2 separate regions of the Homo sapiens genome follow, and region 1 is linked to region 2. Evidence: promoter capture Hi-C in 16 types of primary human blood cells and fetal thymus (Javierre and others, 2016). All regions are on one chromosome and are shown on one strand. The core of a region is centred on a gene start or on the middle of the fragment in contact, and the rest is flanking DNA. Distances in the headings are between cores, read along the strand shown.

Region 1 (6,110 bases), core at 2,931-5,430, 510 kb before region 2:
CATATTAAAAAAAAACCCAGAAAACCCCATTATTGTGTAACAGGGAGATCCTATTAATAGTTAGCATTTGGAGGTTGGCGAGTTAGGAAAGGAAAAGTGAAAAAAAAAAAATTGATTTCTTTCTTCCCCTTATCAGAAGTCCCTCTTTTCTTCCAACAAACTCACCGCTGTCTGGGCTGTGATGTGTGTACAGCCCACTATTTTAGCACCAGCCAAGGGCTTCTCCCCCTGAGCACGTTTCCTGAGTGAAATCAGAGCAGACATGTCTGTGAAAGAACAGAGGATTTGAGCTAGGTCTGCACTAGCAGTATCATCAGTTCCTGCCCCAGGGCTGGTCTGGATCTGTTGAGATATGGTGAGATGAGGCAGAAAAACTTTAAGCCTATTTCCATGACGACTGGCAGCTTCAACGGCACAGTAATAGTGGAGAGCAGTCATGCAACCACTTGGAGTTTCTCTCTTCCTCTACTGCTTCAGCTTTATACACAGAGGACTGAACAGAGAATGAAGTAAATCCTTAAAACTGATCAAAATGAAGGGTGAGTCTCATCATTCATTTGGGAAGAGAGGAAAATAGTTAAGGCATTGGCTAATAGATTCCTATATATAATCATCAGACCAGAAAGACTGTACCCTCAGCCGAAACCACTAACTTCTGTTTTTCTATGCTGTCTTACCATGTCCTGTCAGTCTGTTTGGTTTCTCTATTCTCTCTCAGTATAGAACATGCCTTCAATGTGTAAACAACACAAGAGTAAAGAGGACCTTACTGGGAGTGGCTGGGGTAGAGAAACCAAGATTTAACTGTCAGTCACTTTTACTCTGCTCCAGCAGAGGGTGCTCAGGACCAAACAAGACTCTAGGTCACCACATCCTTACCTTAAAACCCTTCCTCATCAGCTGCTTCTGGGCAATCTGGGTCTCTGCCATTGGCAGCTATAGTAAGATCCCATATAACCAACTACCACGTAGTGATCTAGGACTTGTCAATTCTGCCATGTAGATCTTTGAATACAGTGGTGGGGTGGGGCAAGGAGGAAAACAGAAACTACTCTGTGTGTAATCACCACATGCTGAGAACAGAAGGAAGAGAGAACAAAATCCCAAGACTTAAGTTCCATAGAGAGAGAAGTGTTTATCCGAAAGTCCATAATACTGTCTTTCTTCCCAGTACACTTTCAAGTCAGCTTTCAAGTCTTAAGTTGTTTGTGGATTCTGATGGCCAACAAGAGGGTTGTTTCTGGTCCCCTAACCCACTCCCTTTCTTTACCTTGCTCTGCAATCTCAATCTCCCGGCGTCCAAATTCTGCCTGCTTGATGTTCTTCACACAGAAATTGCTGCTGCCCTTGGAGTTGGTTTGCTGCTTCTCTCGGGGAGAAACCTCATCATCAGAGCTATCTGTGTAGGATGCAGCTAGAGCCAGGAAAGAAAAAAACAAGGATAGAAAAACCTCAGTGGTCCCCAACTCTACAGAGTGCAGTCCCCAAGGGACTTTCATTTAAGTTAAGGGAACACCCTTAATTGGAGCTACCTTTTACAACGCTCTCAGTTCTGCTCCTCTAGGTTCTAATAGGTGGTATGAATGAAACTGTTGTGGGTACTTCCATGTTGCAGCTCTTTCACCCACCCTAACAATACTGTGCTATTAGTGCCTATGACAAGGGACCACTGATTATAAACCTGCAGCTATAGTAATCCCAGATAATAGAGGTACTTGGTCCCATCTGGATTGGAACCAGACCTGGCAAAAACAGAAGAATAATTTAGGGCAGATAAGGAATGCTATTTCTATAGATCACTGGTTCTCAAATTCAAGCATCTATCAGGATCACATGGAAGGTTTGTTAAAACATATATTGCTAGACCCTGTGGCCAGTTTCCCATCTGGCAGGTATGGAGTGGCACCTAAGCATTAGTAGTTCCAACAAGTTACCAGGTGTTGCTGATGCTGCTAGTCAGAGGATCACACTTTGAGAACCATGGATATAGACAAAAGTGATAAGATAGTCTTACAAGGGATTTTACACTAAGTTGTGCTCAAGGAATAGAGAAAGAAAGAAATGGCACAAAAGGCAAACAGCTCTGGTTCTACTGATAGCCCTGGGAAAGTCTGTCAAAATGATCAACTTTAAAAAGTGGTTTCACATAAAAGCTAAAAATACCACTTATCTGACAGATATGCAAGAGGATATACAACAATCATTCCTTACCTCTCAAATCACTTCTTTCCTCTCTGAATTGAGTACTTTCCTCATCACGGTTTCTGCTAGTATACCTGGACTCTCTCACTGACTGACTTCTATGTACAGGTCCTCCTCCTGTCCAGCTAACACAAATACTACTAAAGATTATCTTCCCCACTATGACATTTTAACCATATCACTAAGCTTTTTAAAAGGCTCTAATACATTTCTGTAACATGGCCGTCAAGATCTTTGAAGACTTTTTAAAAGCCTTCTTCAGTCGTTTTATCGTTCTTCCTCTCATAACTCAATTTTTCACAATTAATTTTTCTTCTTTCTTGGCTACAGTTAGCCTGCTTGTCACACACCACTTTTTATCTGTCACTCCAGGATCATATATAACAGCTTTTCATTTATGTTAATCCTTAATGTTGATAATACAATGCAAAAGGTATTCTGGCAAAGGACAATGAATGGCTTTTGGTACAAATATCTCTGCTGACATTAATAGCAATCTGTAACCTCTTAATCTTTTAACAATGAGTCTTCAGTTAAACAATGACAAGGTTGTATTGGATGCCCCATTAGATGTCCCTAATGTTTTCTCCTGTATTCATCTGCCAAGATTCTATATTCTTTTCCATGCTAATTTTCTAATACATGCTCTATAGTTGGGAAAGACACAATACAAAACAGAAAAAGACTTTATTTACAGAGAGTTAAGACAGGAGGAGAGAACTAAAAAGAAACAGAGCTGGAGTTACATTACAGTAGTCTGAATCTTTCCTGCTCCAGAGTCTAACAGGGGAGGATATTCCAACAGAAAGAATAACCTAATAAATAAGAGAAGCCAAAATACTAATTTTATTGTTACAATCTAAGCAGTCTTGGAGACAAGAAAGAAAGAGATAGGTGACAGGGTATATTTTACACAAAGAAATCGTGCTTCAAAATGCACTTCTTTTTTAAGTCCAATTCTGTCAGCCAAAATAGCATTGATTTCTTCCTTTTGAAATGGGCGGATCAATGTGGGAATGGGAACTAGCCCAGTCCTACCAACTGGGCACTGGCCACAGACCACACACACAGACAGCCAGGGGGAAGAAAGTCTCGAGTCGACAAAAGCTTCCCCAGCTACTAGCTTGGCTGCAGAACATTCCCACTGCCCAGCCACTAACAGTTTTCAGCACAAAGGTGGGCAGTCATAACATGAGGTATTTTCAGATTGCTAAGTGAAGAGCACTGGTAGCAAACAGGGAAGAGAGATTAGAGAGGACATGGAGTTCATTCACACCTACCTGAACTGTAGCTGTCAGTGGAGGACTGTGAGATCGAGCGAGACAAAGATCTTCGGCCAGTTTTGGTGGGGAATTTGGTGAACTCCTGCATGTCATCAGCAAACTGGATTTGCTATACAAAAGGAAGACAAAAAGTTGAAAACTTATAAGGAAAATCCATGAAATGTTTTTTTTTTTAAGGATACATTGTCTTTCCCTAAAAGCCATGTAATCACATGGTTCCTACTAAGCCAGCAACTTTCCCACCAGAAATGGGGGAAGGCCGAGGCTACTCTCTGACTTCTCCCAACACGTCAATCACTGTCTCTTCCCAATTGTTTCTGCAGGATTTGGGAGGAGGGGCTAAGGTTAAGAACCAATTTCGTTTAGTATATGTTCAATTTTATAAATCTTTCTCACATTCCATCAAGTTTTTTTCCCCTCTTATAACCCTGACAGATTAAACTCTTTACCCTTCTTCCCAAATCTTTCAGAAAACAGAATCTCATAGTGCTACTGGGGTTTTTTGGTTTTTGTTTCAGAATATTCCCTTGTAGCACATTCCTAAAGTTGGCAAATGGTCTTGCTTTCTGAAAGAATTATGAAGAGATGCCTAGAAATGGTGATGGGCATTAGGGTGCCAATACTCAGAGCCCAACCATATGTCTATACTTCACAAAGCCAATGTAATATCTCTAGAACCTCCTATCCTATTAAAAATTTAAAATACCAGAATATAATGATAAAAAGAAAATTAAAAACCCACATACACTATAGTAAATTCTAACTCATTAGGACTAATCTGAAGGAAGGAGAAAATAATGACTTGGTAAACTTTGTATTAAAAACTTCCTTAAATGGGCCAGGTACAGTGGCTCACGCCTGTAATCCCAACACTTTGGGTAGATCACGAGGTCAGGAGATGGAGACCAGCCTGGCCAAGACGGTGAAGCCCCGTCTCTACTAAAAATACAAAAATTAGCTGGGCTTGGTGGCGGGTGCCTGTAGTCCCAGCTACTTGGGAGCCTGAGGCAGGGAATTGCTTGAACCCGGGAGGTGGTGGTTGCAGTGAGCCGAGATCGTGCCACTGCACTCCAGCCTGGGTGACAGAGTGAGACTCTGTCTCAAAAAAAAAAAAAAAAAACCCAAAAAAAAAACTTCCTTAAATGAAATAAGCCAGAACTAGATAATTCTTTGAAGAATAAAACTGGCTCTAATCAATAGCAAATAGCTTGCAATTGATATTATTTATAGATTTATAAAGTGTGTAACACTTTTATTACATGGTTTAAACCTTCCTCCCGAACTCCTGTTTAAACTCTGATAAACCCTTTCTTCAAAATAAAATAAACTTCACCCCTGAAATAAGCAGGATGGTTTGAGTATGTGAACTGAGATTCTGTTCACGATCTGACTAAATCTGAAAAGGTTCCCTTGGAGAATCCATTAAGCTAAGTCTTTAGCAAATACTCTGGAAATGTAAATGACTACAGATTAAAATCTTCTCTGTATAATACTGGCAACATGGTTACAGCCACTTTAAAGCCAGGAACAGTAAACTACCCATTAGTTACAGCTGCAAAAGCTTCTCCTCCTCTTTCACATGTACCCTTCAGCTAGGGGAGCACCAGATTGCAGTGCAGCAATCAGGTTTAAGCGGGCAGCCTAGGCACAAGCAGCTAATATAAACAAATTGGAAACTGATTTCTACAGTCAGTAAAGCTAGTTTTGCTGAAGAAATTAATCCAGGACCAAGGTAATGACTTCCAACTCAATATGCTGTTATTTTGATGATGGAAAAAAATACACAGTCAAGAGACCATCAACCCCTCTTAACACTCTCCAGAGGCAGCCCTTCCTCCACCAGCCTCCCTGCTGCTGGCATATGCAGCCTATTCTATTTGGAAGCTACTCTCCCCTCTGCTATGATTCCTTCCCCTGTTCGCCTTTTTTCAAAGGGTTCTGGGCATGTTCCCAGATACCAGGTACATGGAGGGTGAGGGTGGGGGAGGGAACTGCAATAACACTTGCAGTTTTTCATATAGAAAGGTGGCTGTGGCAAGAGAGAAATGTGTTTCTTCAGCAACTTAAAAACCGAATAGTCATAATTTCCCCTTATATTAATAAAGCTCATCAGTAGCCTAAACCTAAGCAAAATCTTTCCCATCTAAAAATACTGGACTGTGTTGCAAGCAGCTTAGCAGCTTACTAACCAGTGCAGTGCCCCTACCTCCCCATCTCTCAAATAATGAATATGGTCCATATTTGAAGTGGGTAGAATGTAGTTAACCCAAGCCATGGCAAGGATGAATGGACTGTGTATTCTTGCAGCTGTTTGACATTCTCACCACTTATAAGGTGTCCCAGCAATACAAAGATGCATGAAAACCTGGTCTTTTCTTCCACCCCAAATTACAGCCTGAAGAGAATGTGTGTTACAACTGATGCTGTGGAATACATCTGCTCTGCCAGTTTCCTCCAGACCTGCTAGCTCCACTGATTATCTTCACAGCTAGTAGCTCTGTTTTCTCTTGGTGAAGTATCTCCTGGAGCATTGTTCACCCTCACGTTGAAAATATAAACACTGCTGCCAAAAGCAACTTTTGGATATCACAAGTTTTCTCTCCAGATCTCAACAACAGCCTTCTG
Region 2 (6,068 bases), core at 92-2,591:
CCTTCTCCTTTCCGGCCCCAATGGAGAAAGAAATTATCTTCCATGCCCTCCCGCCCTTTTCAACCATCTGACAACTGCCTATGGCCCAGCCCTCCAGGTTTCCCAATCCCATAGGCTGCAGGGAAAGATGAGCCCTAGATGTTTCCTCCACCTGTCTTAGCCTTAGAAAGGCTGAGCTTTCTGAAAGCTGGGTGCTTCCCTGGGAGAATGAGGTGAGGAATACCCAAACAAATCAGATAGAAGCCTAAACTCACCGCCAAGGCCATGAATACAGGGTGCCAGGAGAAAAGACCTAAGAATCAAAGAGAACAGGCTGAGGGCTTGGTACCATTGTTCCTGCCCCTGTAGCTAGGTGGAACCCAAAGAATCTAGCCACAGGAGAAAAGTACCATCCCCAATCCTAATCGGGCACAGGAACTAAGGACAAAGTGGAGCAGCCAAGGAGCCCCAGGGTGAGCAACCAAGAGGGCCTCCTTATCCACACACATACAACAGTTTGGCCCGGGTTCCCCGTTCAGCACCTCTCAGCTGGCAGCCCAGTCCTCTGCCCCTTTTTTGTTTTTTGTTTTTTTTGGTTGTTGTTTTTTGTTTTTTTTTTGATACGGAGTCTCGCTCTGTCGCACAGGGTGGAGTGCAGTGGTGCAATCTCGGCTCACTGCAGCCTCCACCTCCCGGGTTCAAGCGATTCTCCTCCCTCAGCCTCCCAAGTAGCTGGAACTACAGGCGCGCGCCATCACGCCTGGCTAATTTTTGTATTCTTAGTAGAGACGGGGTTTCACCATGTTGGCCAGGCTGGTCTCGAACTCCTGACCTCAAGTGATCCACCCGCGTCGGCCTCCCAAAGTGCTGGGATTTCAGGCATGACCCACCGCGCCCGGCCTCCTTCACTTCTATCCTCCATCAGGGGACCTGTTTCTGAGGAAGTAGTTCGGTCTGTTCAATCGTCTGCCCTTCCCCCACAGCACCCAAAACCCCATTATTCCAGGATCCCTGGGGCCCCGCCCCACCAGGCCCTCAAAATCCCTCCACTGTTTCTGTCTCCCCTTTACTGCTGGGGTCCCTCCTCCAAGTCTCCCGGGGCTCCCAAGCGCTGCCCCTCCAGCATCTCCACTCCGCCCCCTTCCGCAACCCCGCCCCGCACACTCACTGGTTCCTGGCCGGGACAGCGCTGTCAGAAAGATGGTGAAGCCCAAAGCTACCAGGTGCGCCAAGATCCCACTGCCTCTCCGCAGCCAGCGGGTCAGTCTCGGCTCCCCAGCTGGAGCGGGAACCAGACCTACCTCCAGGGGCTGCATGGCCGTGGCCCGCGGGCCCGTACACTCCAGCTGCCCGAACACGTCTTCCGGGTTTGCGATCGCGGAGGCGGTGGCGGCTGCAGGAGAGGCTCCTCCCCGGGGACGCCGCCGGCAGTGCGGCGGAGTGGCCCACAGCGCCCTCTGGGGGCTGGGGGGGAAACGCGAGTGCCCCGGAGAGGCCCGCTCCCGCGAGAGCCCGGAGGCAGAAGGGGACCGAACAGTTCCCAGCCCACCTTCATTTGTATCTGTGTGTCTGTCTACAAGGGCCTAAATCCCAAGCAGCCTGTGGAAATTACTTTTGTGGCAAACGATTTCAGTGAAACCCCAAATCACACACTTGGTACGCTGAACCAAGACTGTGAAACAAGTGTTTGGAGCCGATTTCTAGTAGTACTGGATTTCCCTGGCTGTGCACTGTCTCCTGTCACCTCATTTTGTCTTGTTCAGGGAACAAGCTTCCTCCATGCCTAAGAGCAAGGAGAATAGGAAAGGACATCGCCAAAATATAGTGCCTTGAACCTGGTGGACCAAAGGAGGGAAATGCAAGTCTCCTCTCGCATCTGCACGGGAGTGGTCCCCAGCGAGATAAATGGAAAAACTAGGGCACTCCCAGCCCTGCCGCCTCCTCAGCAGCTGCTCAGCCCTGAGGAGCCAGGTGATCCTGAAGGACCAAGGCCTCCCACACTCCTGTGGCCTCCCACACCACCAGTTCTGCAAGTGATGATGCCTTTTCCCTTCCTGCCTCCAAAAAAGGGGTGGTTCAACCCAAGGAGGCCTCCCTGGGAAAGGTTCTACCCCTTCCTTAAAGGCAAACCCACAGGCAGGGAAGGAAGGCTGTCCAATAGAAAACAGGAATATCCCAACAGCAATGACCAACCCAGCTCAAGCTCCCTAAGTGGCTGAGAAAATGAGGCTGCAGGAACAGCTGAAGAAAAGCAGGCAATAATTCAGGGAGGGATGGATGCCTAGGGTTGCTGAAGGACCAGAAAAGGGTCACAAGCCAATTCCCAGACCCTCGGGGCAAGGATCCTAGAAAGAGCCAGAAGTGCAGCTCCCCCTCTCGAGTTTCTCTTCCCAATGGGACCATAGTCGTCTCTGGTGTCAAGACTCAGGAAGCCTTACTCATTCAGAGCCACACGCCTCATCATCCTGTCTGGAAAGACTACCCCAGTGACACAAACATTTTTCACACTATTGAAAATGACAAGATGACAATAATAATAATAATGAGCATAAGAGACTTTTGCAGGCAAGCTATGGGAGCTGGAGTCTGGCTGCCTATCATCTCAGCCTCCCAGGGTAGGGCTGGGGACAGTAAGGACACTCATTTTGTTATTTTTTTTCCTTCCTTTTCTATGTTTCTGTTTTTATATTTTCATAGCAGCAACAGAACAGGGAGACAGTCTTGAGGTATTTTAAAGAGCTTTTTTTCTTAAAAAAAAATAATATAAAGTTATAAAAAGCGGCAGCAGCCTGGGGCCCGGATCTGGAGGGGAGGAGGTGCTGGCGGCTCCGTTGCAGTGGGCAGGCACTTTCTCGTTAATGGGCTTTTGACTGCAGGAAGACAAGAGGCGAGAGAAAGGGTCAGGGTGGGGGCCTACCAGCTGTCCTACCCAGTGAACTGTGTGCACTACAGAGGCTAAAGCTTGATTTCCTTCTGCTGGCCTGGTGAGTAAAACTGAGCAAGGGGGAAGATGAATGCCAGCTCACCAGGGGCAGCCTGGGTAGTGAAGCTGGAGAACACACAGGGTTTATGATTAGGCCCACATCTAACCCAGGAGAGCACCCCCGTCCCACCTCCAGTAAGTCCCTCCTGGCAGAGATCATATGGAGAGCACATAGCACACTACACCAGGGCTCCCACCAGAAGAGGCAAATAAAACTGGCTGCAGGCTTTACTGGAAACCCTGGAGAACTTGCCTGTCACCTGCACACCTGGAGGTGGGCACATGTGCATAAGTGGACATGGGGTTGTGTGCCTGCCCTTCAAGGCCCTGATGCCCAGAGGAAAAACCAGTGAGACCAGCCCACCCACCTTGCTGCTCGGCATGTTAGGCTGTGACCCAGGGACTCAAACTCCCTTTCCTTCAGGGAACAGAGGTAGCTCCAGTACCTGGAATGAGGGTCACAGCCAATTCAGAAAGAAGTAGCCCTTTGATTATAGCAAAAGCAGGGGTGGAGGGGTGCCGCATCTCCTCAGCCCAAGGGAAAGGGTTAGGGATAGGGGAAGGTTCACCAGGCAAAAAGCTGGAGTCACTTTGCTAAGAACTGACCTACCTCTTCCTAAAGAAAACAGTCCAGGAACTCTCTCAACTTCCCCTTCCTCCCTTTCCCTGCACAAACACCAATGTAGCATCTTCTCTGTATCAGGTACCCCCTGTGTGCCCCACCCTCATCAATCTTCAGGGAGCCTGGCTGGTACCTTCAGTGTAGAGCACTTCTCCTCAAAGGCCAGGGCCGGGCCTGGCTTCTTGCGGCGCACAGAGCAGGCCACATCAGCAGGGGCACCAGCCTGACAGTGCTTGGCCTTCACTGGCCGGCAATAAGTGGCCAGGTTTTTCCGCTTCTTGGCCACCTCCTCCTCAGAGAGGCAGTTGGTTGGCAGGGCCTTGGCTGGGTGTCCAGCTGCTCCCCGGTTCTCCAGCTGAGAAGCCTTGACTGGTGTGGGGAGCTGATGAGGGGAGCCACGACAGTCCAGGGGCCCTGCCCGCTTCACTCTTGGCCCCATTGTCCCATTAAGCCCCATGCTCAGGGCTGTTTTAGTTTTGGCCGAGAGGCCCCTACAGCCAGAGGGTTTCCCTTTTCCAGTGGGCTCCAGGATGCAGGTCCGTTTAAGAGTGGTAGGGCCAGGGGATAACTTCCGCTTTCGAGAAGGGGCCTCCACCTCCACCCCGTCCTTGCCTTTGGATGACTTGCTGGCCTTGGAAGGCGGCAGCTTGCTGAAGGACGGGGATGGCGTGTTGGCAGGCAGTGGTGAGGTGATAGCCTGGCTCCCGCCCATGCACTCTGCCTGGCTACAGGCAGCCGCCACGCTGGGGGAGCCTGCAGGGTAGCTGGGGACAAGGTTGTCCTTGGTGGGGGGCATGGAGGCTGGGCAGGCAGGTCTCAGGGTTGGACCTGGAAGGCGGGGGCAGGTGCCTGTAGAGGATGGGCTCAGGGGAGCAGATAACGGGGAGTTGACAAGGTGAGCTGGAGGTTCAGCTGCCGGTGGGATCTTCCTGCAGCAAAAAGAAAGCCCCACTGTGACTGCCAAGAAACAAGACAGCTTCCCCCAACACAAGACACACTCCAGTCTCTCTGCCCCACCTAGAAATGGTCAGCAGAGCCCCAGAGTTGCTGCCATCTGCTGGGAGATGCTGGAACTGAGGGTTAGGAAGAAGACACAGGGGTGCCTGTGGAGAGGAATTAGCTAGTACCTACTAACTAGGAGGCAGCCCACTAGGAACTTCATTTTAAATCTTGGTTTGGGCATCCCCTATCCCTAGTTACCCAAAAGGTACTGGAAGTGATGGATGAAAGTCTAGATTCACCCCCAGACCACCCTTCCATGCCCTGCCTTAGCCAAACTCTAGGCTGCCAAGTTTTCCCACCTCCTTTTCATGCTACTCCCTATCTGGGGTCCTGCTGGCAAATAGCCAAGGCACACCTATGGGTATACAGGAAAGATCAGGGCTTCTGAAGCCCAAGTATGTCTGGAACCTAGGAATTTCCATTCTAGAACTTCCATTCTGGGTCCGAGAGACTTACTTCCACATGTGTGTGCTGAGGTGCCGTTCCAGCATGGAGCTGAGTGCTGAGCAGAACCGGTCCAGCCGGCGGCTAAACACATAGCATCCTGGGCTCACCAGCCGGCTCCCAAAGGTGCAGAACTAAAGGCAGAAGGAAGGTGCATGGTTGGCAGGGTCTGGGGTGCACAGACAGCATCTGCACACAGGATCTGGCCTCCTCCCCATGTTGTTGGCCAGGAGTGCTGGGCCACCCCCTCCATAGGCCCCTATTCCAGGTCCTTACCGCCTGTGGCCGTGGGGGCCGGGTTGCATAATGGCAGTCAGGGGGTGGGTGGAGGTCGTCAGATGTCCCCTCCTCCTCACTCTCTTCGCTGGAGGCCTGGGTCCCACCCCGGGGCATGGGGAAGGGGAACAGGCCTGGGTCCCCATCACCACCACAGGGGCCTTCATCATCCAATTCACTCTCGGAGGAGGCCCGGGACCTGGAAGGGCCAAAAGGGATGCCAGGGGAATGTGACTGTTGTGGGGTCAGAGTAGGGGCATCCTTGAACCTGCCGAGCTCAAAGAGCAGGGCACCAGGGCAGACACCCTGCAGGGCAATCAGAAGAGGACAGAGGGAAGGGAAGGACAGGAGGGAACGACACAGCTCACAGAGTAAGAGACAGAGAGACTGCTCCCAAGGGATTCTCTCCCCAGCCCCTTCACCTCCCAGCCCCTTCCTCCTCAGGGGATAATCTGCTGCAGATCCGCCTCCTCCAGAAAATCTTCACAGTTAAAACTGTACCCAGCTCTGGTCAGCCCAGTCAACTCGCTCAACCCCCTTCTTGCATCACATATTCCTGTGAGCCTGTCTGTGAGCTGAGCCTGTGTTTCGTGTCTGCCCCTTGTGTGACAGGCAGAGATGCATGTGTGTCTCCTTCAGCAAGTCAGGCTCTCCCTGGGGTCCGGCATAGCCTCTGCACGCGAAGGGGCCAGTGAGTGAATACACATAGGGCTGCCTTGCCCAGGAGTGTGACCCTTTCAGCTCCCCAGTGACAAGTTTCGG

Evidence for each region. Contacts are between HindIII fragments. The CHiCAGO score rates a contact against its expected background, and 5 or more counts as called.
Region 1: a contact is called between a fragment that was not itself captured here and the fragment with the promoter of CYB561D1 in region 2, in 5 of 17 cell types (naive CD4 T cells, M1 macrophages, M0 macrophages and 2 more). The highest score is 7.7, in naive CD4 T cells.

What each region holds. Positions count from the first base shown.
Region 1 is chr1:110,006,518-110,012,627 of GRCh38, reverse strand. AHCYL1 (adenosylhomocysteinase like 1) reads right to left here. Exons shown (of 17, transcript NM_006621.7): 2 at 3,483-3,594; 3 at 1,271-1,414; 4 at 166-266. Among named protein-coding and RNA genes, the nearest start is that of AHCYL1, 25 kb to the right of the region's middle. RefSeq lists an enhancer at 135-184. The HindIII fragment of the contact is 1,737 bases long and covers 3,312-5,048 here.
Region 2 is chr1:109,489,367-109,495,434 of GRCh38, reverse strand. CYB561D1 (cytochrome b561 family member D1) reads right to left here and starts at 1,341. Exons shown (of 3, transcript NM_182580.3): 1 at 1,148-1,341; 2 at 255-292. The coding sequence starts at 1,295. It overlaps ATXN7L2 (ataxin 7 like 2), which reads right to left. Exons shown (of 11, transcript NM_001350175.2): 8 at 5,307-5,505; 9 at 5,043-5,164; 10 at 3,718-4,513; 11 at 2,701-2,849. The coding sequence ends at 2,835. RefSeq lists enhancers at 701-1,201, 1,191-1,270 and silencers at 1,341-1,570, 4,529-4,578. The HindIII fragment of the contact is 3,360 bases long and covers 1-1,752 here.